Linked DNA regions of Homo sapiens: region 1 is linked to region 2. Evidence: promoter capture Hi-C in 16 types of primary human blood cells and fetal thymus (Javierre and others, 2016). All regions are on one chromosome and are shown on one strand. The core of a region is centred on a gene start or on the middle of the fragment in contact, and the rest is flanking DNA. Distances in the headings are between cores, read along the strand shown.

Region 1 (4,376 bases), core at 99-2,598, 530 kb before region 2:
CCTGGCTCTTTCCAGAAAAAGTTTGCCATCCCTGATTGTAACCTCATGCCTCATGAGGAAGACCACAGGGGTCCCCAGGAGAGTTTTAAGATATGTCCCTGCTAGGTGGGCAACATAAAGGATGAGTACCTAGACTGTATCTAAGGCGGCCATGGGCTAGGCTCTGACTCTCCCAAGGGGGAGAGAAGGGTGAAGACCTGCTTTGGTGGCATACCCCGTGCTATGACACTGGGATAGGAGGTGACGCTGAGTGTTTCCCAAGGACCACACTCAGGATTGAGTGGGAGAGAGAGCAGCCACCTGGAGACCTCAGCAGATAGAGGCTGGAGTGGATCAACTCCTGCCCAGGGATTAAAGACATCACAAGAGACCACCCAGAATAGGTGCATTCTTTGCAGTCAAAGGAAGTGGGGGAGAAAAGGTTGCAGAAAAGAATCTCTAGGCTGGGCACGGTGGCTCACGCCTGTAATCCCAGCACTTTGGGGGGCTGAGGCGGGTGGATCACCTGAGGTCAGGAGTTCGAGACCAGCCTGACCAACATGGTGAAACCCGGTCTCTACCAAAAATACCAGAATTAGCCAGGCGTGGTGGCACGTGCCTGTAATCCCAGCTACTTGGGAGGCTGAGGCAGGAGGATCACTCAAACGCGGGAGGCAGAGGTTGCAGTGAGCAAAGATTGCACCATTGCACTCCAGCCTGGGCAACAGAATGAAACTGTGTCTCAAAAAAAAAAAAAGAAGAAGAAGAAGAAGAAAAAAGAAATCTCTAAAGAGCTCACCAAAGTGAGAGAGAGCCTCCTCTAACCATCTGCCTGCCCTGAGACAGCATGAAGCCAGCCGCCAAGTTGGAGCTGGGCTAGACCCTTCCTTCTCCCTACCCACTGCTTCTGATGCACCTGGTGGGACTGCACCCACAACTGGCAAGTTTGGGGGACACATGAGTAAGGGAAGAGGAGGACCAGAAGGCCGTGTTACCTTCCCCGCTGCAGTCTTCCAGCCAAACAGTGAGGGAGATTTAACACTGTCATGTTTGGGATTCTGACATTCTTCTCTTTTTTGAGAGAGAGAGACAGGGTCTTACTCTGTTGCCCAGGCTGTAGTGCAGTGGCCTGATACTAGCAGCTCACTACAGCGTCAATCTCCTGGGCTCAAGCGATGCTGCCTCCTCAGCCTCCCAAGTAGCTAGGACTGCAGGCATGCGCCACCACACCCAGCTAATTTTTTCTTTTCTTTTCTTTTCGTTTTTTTTTTTTTTTTTTGAGACAAAGTCTCACTCTGTCGCCCAGTCTGGAGTGCAGTGGCGCGATCTTGGCTCACTGCAACCTCTGCTTCCCGGGTTCAAGCGATTCTTCTGCCTCATCCTCCCGAGAGCTGGGACTACAGGCGCGTGCCACCAAGCCTGGCTAATTTTTGTATTTTTAGTAGAGATGGGTTTCCCCATATTGGTCAGGCTGGTCTTGAACTCCTGACCTCGTGATCTGCCCTCCTCAGCCTCCCAAAGTGCCGGGATTACAGGCATGAGCCACCGTGCCCGGCCAATTTTTTCTTTTTTTGTAGAGACAGGGTCTTTCTGTGTTGTCCAGGCTTGGTCTCAAACTCCTGGCCTCAAGAGATCCTCCAGCCTCAGTCTCCTGAAGTGATGGGATTATAGGCATGAACCACCACACCCAACCCATTCTAACATTCTAACTACTAAATTGAAACTGTTTGTGACCTAATATGACTCATCTGTTCCAAGGAATGAGTGGAAAAGGTTTGGGACCTGCCAGAGTTTCCCAGCTCATGAGAAGGCCACCTCCACTAGGGAGAGCTTAGGGGGATGATAGGAACACACTGAAGTAAGGTTTGGTTTCTGGCATGACTCATGCTTGTTCAACATGCTGGATCCAATAACATATAGAATGAGTGTCCCTAATCCCCAAATCCAAAATATGAAATGCTCCAAAATGTACTAGTTTTTGAGAACTGATGTGACATCACAAGTGCAAAATTTCTCATTTGACCTCATGTGAAGGGGTGGCAGGCAAAACACAGTCGAAACTCTGTTTCATGCACAAAATTGTTTAAAATATTGTATAAAATTTCCTTCAGGCTGCGTGCATAAGGTGTATATGAAACATAAATGGCCAGGGGTGGTGGCTCACGCCTATAATCCCAGCACTTTAGGAGGCCGAGGTGGGTGGGTCACCTGAGGTCAGGAGTTTGAGACCAGCCTGGCCAACATGGCAAAACTCCGTCTCTACTAAAAATGCAAAAATTCGCCAGGCGTGGTGGCACATGCCTGTAATCCCAGCTACTTGAGAGGCTGAGGCACAAGAATCGCTTGAACCCAGGATGGGGAGGTTGTAGTGAGCCGAGATTGCGCCACTGCACTCCAGAGTGCACTGCAACAGAGTGAGACTCTGTCTCAAAAAAAAAAAAAAAAGCAAACAAACAAACAAAAAACCGTAAATGAAACAAACAAAAAACCGTAAATGAATTTTGTGTTTAGACTTGAGTTTCAACCCCAAGGTATGTATGTGCAAATATTCCAAAAAGTGAAAACATCTGAAATCTGAGACATTTCTGGTCCCAGGTATTTCACACAAGAGATATTCAACCTGTATTATTAAGCACATGCTGGACATCATGCTAAGCCCTTTTCATGCATTACACATGAAACCTCCCAACCAGCCTTTACTGTTAAGCCAATTTCACAGAAGAGGAACCGAAGCAAAGGAAAGATAGGCTATGGTCTAGAGGAAGCTTGTCCAACGCACAGCCTGTAGGCTGCATGTGGCCCAGGACAGCTTTGAATGCAGCCCAACACAAATTTGCAAACTTTCTTAAAACATTATGAGTTTTTTGTTTGTTTTTTGTTCCTGTTTTAGCTCATTAGCTATCATTAGTGTTAGCGTGTTTTATGTGTGGCCCAAGACATTCTTCTTCCCATGTAGCCCAGGGGAACCAAAAGATTGGACAACCTTGGTCTAGAGCCTCATTATTAAGTGGTGGAGATGAGATTCGAACCCAGGCAACCCAGGACCAGCCTGAGTTCTCAATCGCTATGTCATGCTGACTGGAAGCACAGCAACCCAAGCCTTGGTTCTCAAAAGGTTTGTTATTGGCTGAGAGGTCTTGACTTCCCCTAGAATCCCAGGGTTGCTGACTTTGTTTCTCCCGTCAGAGCCTGCCACAGACTCCTTATTGGATCCGAGTTGGCCAGAGACCCTTCAGACCTCATTGAATCAGCTGGGTCACAAGTGCCAAGTTGCTCGCAGTGCAGCCTGGACCGGCTCTGGAACTTCTCATTGTCAAAGCTAAGAGTCAATTGAGTCACCCACTGAGTCAGATGGCATACTCAAATGTATTGCACAAGTCTAAAATCCTGTGTAGGCCCACAAACATTGCACCTGAGTCCTAGTGATAGGGCATACCAGGCACAGCAACTTGCTTTTCATTTTGGAGAAAGAGCCCTAGTCCCCCAGATCATTGAACACCTTCCCCCACCTCTGCTCCAAATCCACTGTCCCAAATCTTCTGTAGCTTTGGGAGATTTCTCTTCTACCCATTGTTGTGAATTTTTTTACCCAGGCATCCTTGGTGTCTGCTACTTCAGCTCCCTAGATTCTATCAACTTGATGTCCCTTGAGATGGTTCAGGTTCCCACAGACCAAACTTAAGCCCAGCACCAGAGAGGTAACAATACTGAGGTAAGTAAGGAAAAGATGTACTATTGTCCTTGCCAGGTACAACAAACAAATGAACGAACAAATGAATGAACAACTAACCTGCTTCTGCTTCTAGTGTGTGTCATAATAGAGAAATATTTGGCAAATCCACGGATGCATACCAAGTGCCAGAGTCTCTGTATATCTGTTTTGGTCAAATGAAGCCACCTGGAACAGCACATGTAACTGATTAAGTTTATGATAATGCACTGTCATTCCCCAAGCCCCATCTGGTTTTCTTCACTAGTCAAACTAGAGAGTTAAAAGGGAATGTGATAGCAATCATCACCTCTGGATCTTTCATGTCTATTAATCTCTGAAATTCTCCGAGGGATATGGTATCACTTGTGATGTGCCATTTTGTACATGAAGAGCCCTTTGAGTTTACACTTGGCCATTTGAGCCAATGTGGGGATTTGCTATTGGTACATGTATATGTTCCACTTATACCCCTATGAGCCAGGGAAATAAAGACAGATTTGGGGACTCTTTGGGCCTAGTGACAAACTTAAAACTTAGTTTCTTACCTAACTCACCATAAATCCCTTCTCTGACTGGTGGGCAACAGTGGTATTCCAGGTCCATAGGAATTAGCATTAGTAATGGATGCAGTTTTCAATAATCCTTCAAAGATCTAGGTTTTCTGTTTCTCTAGTACACATTTGCC
Region 2 (4,648 bases), core at 592-3,091:
ACTACTATTTTAGAACTATGTTTTAAATTTAAAAGCTATTGTTATAAAAATTAAATAACAAAAACAGTCTTTCTATAAGTAACGCAAAACAACGAAAAGAGCCCACATGGCAAAAAATACACTCTATCGAAACAAACAAATAAAATGAAAGATGTAACATCAAACACGTTATTCCTTAAAAACATGTAAACAAGGGAATCTCATTCAAACAAAGAGCTTTTCCTACCTAACCAAAAATCTGCTTTTTTCTTTTTTTTCTTTTTTGAGACGTTGTCTCGCTCTGTCTCCAGGCTGGAGTGCAGTGGCGCAATCTCGGCCCACTGCAACCTCCGCCTCCCGGGTTCAAGTGATTCTCCTGCCTCAGCCTCCGGAGTGGCTAGGATTACAGGCGCACACCACCATGCCCGGCTAATTTTTTATTTTGGCGAGGCTGATCTGGAATTTTTGTATTTTTAGTAGAGATGGGGTTTCATTCACCATGTTGGCAAGGATGGTCTCAATCTCCGGATCTCGTGATCCGCCCACTTCGGCCTCCCAAAGTGCTGGGATTACAGGCCTGAGGCACCGCGCTCGGCCTGGTTTGATTTTGATAGGTGCAAAGAGTTAATCTCAACTTTCAGTTAACTACTGGACACTGGTGTGCTCCTTTATTCCCAGTATTACACCAAGGAAAACGTTCCAGAAACGTCGATAAGCCGGTGGTGAATTACTGCCATCGGAACATTTACGGCATTCAAAGACAGAAAAAACTTCATCTTGAAAAATCACAATCCAAAAACAACAGCCATTCTTACACCAATTCATAAAAAATATGTGAACCACTTTATCCCTAAATACTGCAAAAACATCAAAATGAGGGAACAGTGGAACAACAGAGGTAAGAGGTAACTGCTAGAACCAGGATTAGAAACTAATTCCTGCCTTCTTCTGAACTCTTTTGCTACATCCTCCTTCCTCGCCAGTTTTCATGGGGTTGTTGGTGCTTTTATTGCAAGTTTCCTTCCCTTTCTTCCCTATAGCACTGTGTTCCGTCAACTCTGCGGCTCTATCACTGGAGGCTGTAGAGGCATCCGCTGATACACCAACAGCCTGCTAATTTCTATGGGGAGTAATAGTACTGGCTGCACCTCAAGTGCTTACAGTCTAGTTGACCATTTGTTTCTCTTTTTTTAGGGTCTTTAAAAGTGTTATTCTTTGTCGCCCTTTGTTTCTGAGTAATGCTCACGATGATGCTGATTCAACCACTGCTCTTCTGGGATCGGGGACCCCAGAAAAGAACCCACCGCCCGAGAGCCAAAGTGGAGGGGTGACCCTCCTCCCCTTTTCCTGCCACAGCTCACACTCTCAGACTTTTTGCTCTTAAAGTCCCTGGGCAGCCCCAAGGAGCCCCCGCCTCCTCCCGGGCCGCCCACGCGCGGCACCCCTGGAAGAAGGCGACCCCACGCCCCCCCTGCCCGGCTCGACCCAACTGACAGCGAAGCAGGATGCAGTTGGTGTCCTCCTGGCTGGCCACCCAGCTCAGCGAGTCGCCCAGCGGCCGCCGGCAGCCGGAGCACAGGAACACCAGCGGCCTCTCCTCCGCAGCCGCCGCCTCCTCCTCCAGCTGCGCCCTCTCCATGTCGGCCACCGACGCGTCTTCGCTCATGGAGCTCCACATGCTCGCCCACTTCTGCAACAGCTGGTGGCGGCTCGAGTCTTCGGAGAGTCTCTTGCCCAACAGCGAGGAGTCGCTGCATTTGCCCTTGTCGCCGCACTCACAGCCGCCAGCGCATCCTCTGCTACACCTCAGTGACCGAACGCCTGCCATTACCTACAAATCGCCCGCGCCCCAGAGCGCCATGGGAAAAAAAACCGCCGCTGCTCATGCGCGGGGCGGGGAGCGGTGGCGGAGGCCGAGAAGGGGCAAAAGCCTGAAGGGGGCGGGACGGCGGGCGGCCTCTAGTGCGCATGCGCGCCGTGCGGCCTTGGCCAAGCGTGATAGTCACTGCGCCTGCGTCAGGTTTTCCAGCCTGAAGAAATTGATGATGCAGACCTGTTTGCTTGTCTTCCTAAGGATTATTCACCCCTTTCCGTGGGAGGGGCAGCGTCACTGAGAAAGTTACGGGTTGCAAGCTTGAGTGTCTAAGAACCGCCTGGCGAGCTTCTTAAGCAGATCGCCAGGTTCCATCTTCGCAGACTCTGGTTCAGCAGGTAGCAGGTTAGCCCGAGAATCTGCATTTCTAACAAGCTCCTAGGCGTGCCCACGCTGTCAGTATTGGCAGCCCAACCTTTTTTGGGGGGTGGGGGGGGGAGTTTTTCTATGTTGCCGGTCTCGAACTCCTAGCCTTAAGCGATCTTCCCTACTCGGCCTCCCAAAATGCCAGGATCGCAAGCGTAAGCCACTGTGCCAGACCACCACCCTTTTTCTTCTTTTTTGTAAGTGGACTAATTATAGTTGTATATAAGCAGCTCCACTTTTGATGACCACTGCTCTATTTTGTCGGCTCCTGGGGACCTCCTTTCCATGAAGTGGAGAAGGAAGGGGATAGAGGAGTCCCTCATCACAGGGTCCTTTTGCGCACTGCTATCCCTGGAATGAGACCCTGGGAAGGGCCCCGGATCACTCAGGCTGTCACTGCAAGGAAAAAGTTGAGGAAGCAGCAGTGCCCCTGGAAAGCCTGGAAGTGTCCCTGCTGCTTGGATCAAGGAACAATTCGTCCTTGCAAGGAAGAAGCATCCCTTGTTGATGATAAGGACAGATTTCCTCAGCTGCCCCAGAAAGCCAGCCTCTGCCTAAAACACCGTAGGTCAGGAGGGAAAGCTGGCGGGGAACCAGCCAGCTGCACCACAGACAGTCTGGTGGTATACCTGGGAAGAAAGCTACCTGCAAGGACCTACTCTGTTCCTACTACGCTCTGGGTGTCCCCCAAGTCACTGCCTATTTTGCTTGGTTGCATAAACTATTTATGTAAATGTACTTCCAATTTTAGTGCTTACAGCCACTAGCAAAAAGCAAAAGCTTTGGAGTCAGTGGTCCTGGTTAACTTACCCCTCCCTCCACAAGGTAGTAACAGTGTAGGGAACTGTGGAAAAGGCTGTTTGCCTTCCCTGAGTCTAATTCTTCATGGAGTAAATGGAGTCTGTTTCTTCAGTACTACACCAAGTTGTTCATGAGGATCGAGTTTTCTAATATTCATGAAAATACTTTGTAAACCCTGGCACACCATGCTCATGTTAATCACCTTCTTACTGGAAGAAAATGCTTTAGATAATTTAGGCTTTTTTTTTTTACCCATAGAATTCCCTTCCTTCCTTCTGCTTTTTTTTTTCTTTTCTTTATTTTTTCAGAGATGATGTTTCAGTATGTTGCCCAGGCTGGTCTCGAACTCCTGGCCTCAAGCGATCCTCCTGCCTCAGCCTCCCAAGTAGCTGGAACTACAGGCATGCCTCACCATACTTTGCCCCTTCTACTTTTGTAGAGCCAAGCCTGACCTTCCTGGACTGTTGTTTTCAAGCATAATATCTCTGGTACAACATTGATACAATCCACATGAGTTCTTTAAGTAAGTGGCTAGTTACTTGGGGATTCAAAGGATCATCTTGTCTCAGACTTTGGGTTCCTATTGTCAATACTTAAATTCTATGATAGGATGCCCCAGGAAAGAAGGAATACAAGGCCGAGCTGCGTGGTGACTTTCAGGGGCCCTATTTTTGCCTTAGTAGGCCTTTCTCTCCATAAAACAGTTAATAAAAATTTCATTTTATAGTCACATTGCTATGAAGATGATTATATTAAAATGATATCATAAAACATTTTTAGACCTGTAAGTTCATTTATTGCTCTTGATTAAAAAAATTGAAACATTTTCATGGTCCTTCAGAATATCATGGTTTGTAGGCATGATGCCTCCTGCACATCATGGAGAAGTTGGCTGATGCAAAATGAATTCCTCTATAGGCACAAGTGTGTTTGTATTAATATTATGAATATAAAAACAAGGCTAGCCATGGTGGCTCATGCCTGTAACCCCGGCACTTTGGGAGGCTGAAGCGAGAGAGTCACTTGAGCCCAGGAGTTTGAGAACAACCTGGGCAACATAGAGAGACCCTGTCTCTACAAAGATTTCAAAATTAGCCAGGCATGGTGGTGCGCCCCTGTAGTCCCAGTTGCTTGTGAGGCTGAGGCAGGAGGATGGGTTGGGCTTGGGAGGTCGAGGCTGCAGTAAGCTGTGATTATGCTATTGCACTCCAGCCTGGGTGACAGAATGAGATCCTGTCTCAAAAAAATAAAAAACAAAACAAAACCTCAGCTAACCACAAAATCATCATATTTATGGGAGGACAAAATGAGATGCTTGAAAAAGATGACCTCGTAGTTTGTGGTTGTGGTTGCTTCCTAAACTACATTCTCACCGTACTTCCTAGTTATCTAACTAGGAGATTTGGATAAGGTTGAGTCCATCTCCACCACTCTCACCACCAGTTCCGGGAATGAGTCCCTAGAGGTTTAACCCGATCAATCAGGATGACCATGACTCTTCCATAGCGATTGGGGCAGGGATGGCACCTACCCCTGGCGACCCGTGCTGCTCCCCTGGCAATAGGGATTGGCTCAGAATAAAAACTTGGCCTTGTCAAGTTCAATTTTGCCCAATCTGAGTAAGGGAAT

What was found. The method cuts DNA at HindIII sites, captures the fragments that hold promoters and counts their contacts. A CHiCAGO score of 5 or more calls a contact.
Region 1: a fragment that was not itself captured here is called in contact with the fragment with the promoter of MIS18A in region 2 in 1 of 17 cell types (M1 macrophages); the score reaches 6.1 in M1 macrophages.

The regions. Positions count from the first base shown.
Region 1 is chr21:31,749,250-31,753,625 of GRCh38, forward strand. No RefSeq gene overlaps it. Among named protein-coding and RNA genes, the nearest start is that of SCAF4, 19 kb to the left of the region's middle. The HindIII fragment of the contact is 2,788 bases long and covers 1-2,742 here.
Region 2 is chr21:32,277,208-32,281,855 of GRCh38, forward strand. It overlaps MIS18A (MIS18 kinetochore protein A), which reads right to left and starts at 1,842. Exons shown (of 5, transcript NM_018944.3): 1 at 1,474-1,842. The coding sequence starts at 1,807. MIS18A-AS1 (MIS18A antisense RNA 1) reads left to right here and starts at 1,998. Exons shown (of 1, transcript NR_046576.1): 1 at 1,998-3,792. RefSeq lists enhancers at 1,091-1,592, 1,593-2,092, 2,036-2,255. The HindIII fragment of the contact is 2,727 bases long and covers 1-2,110 here.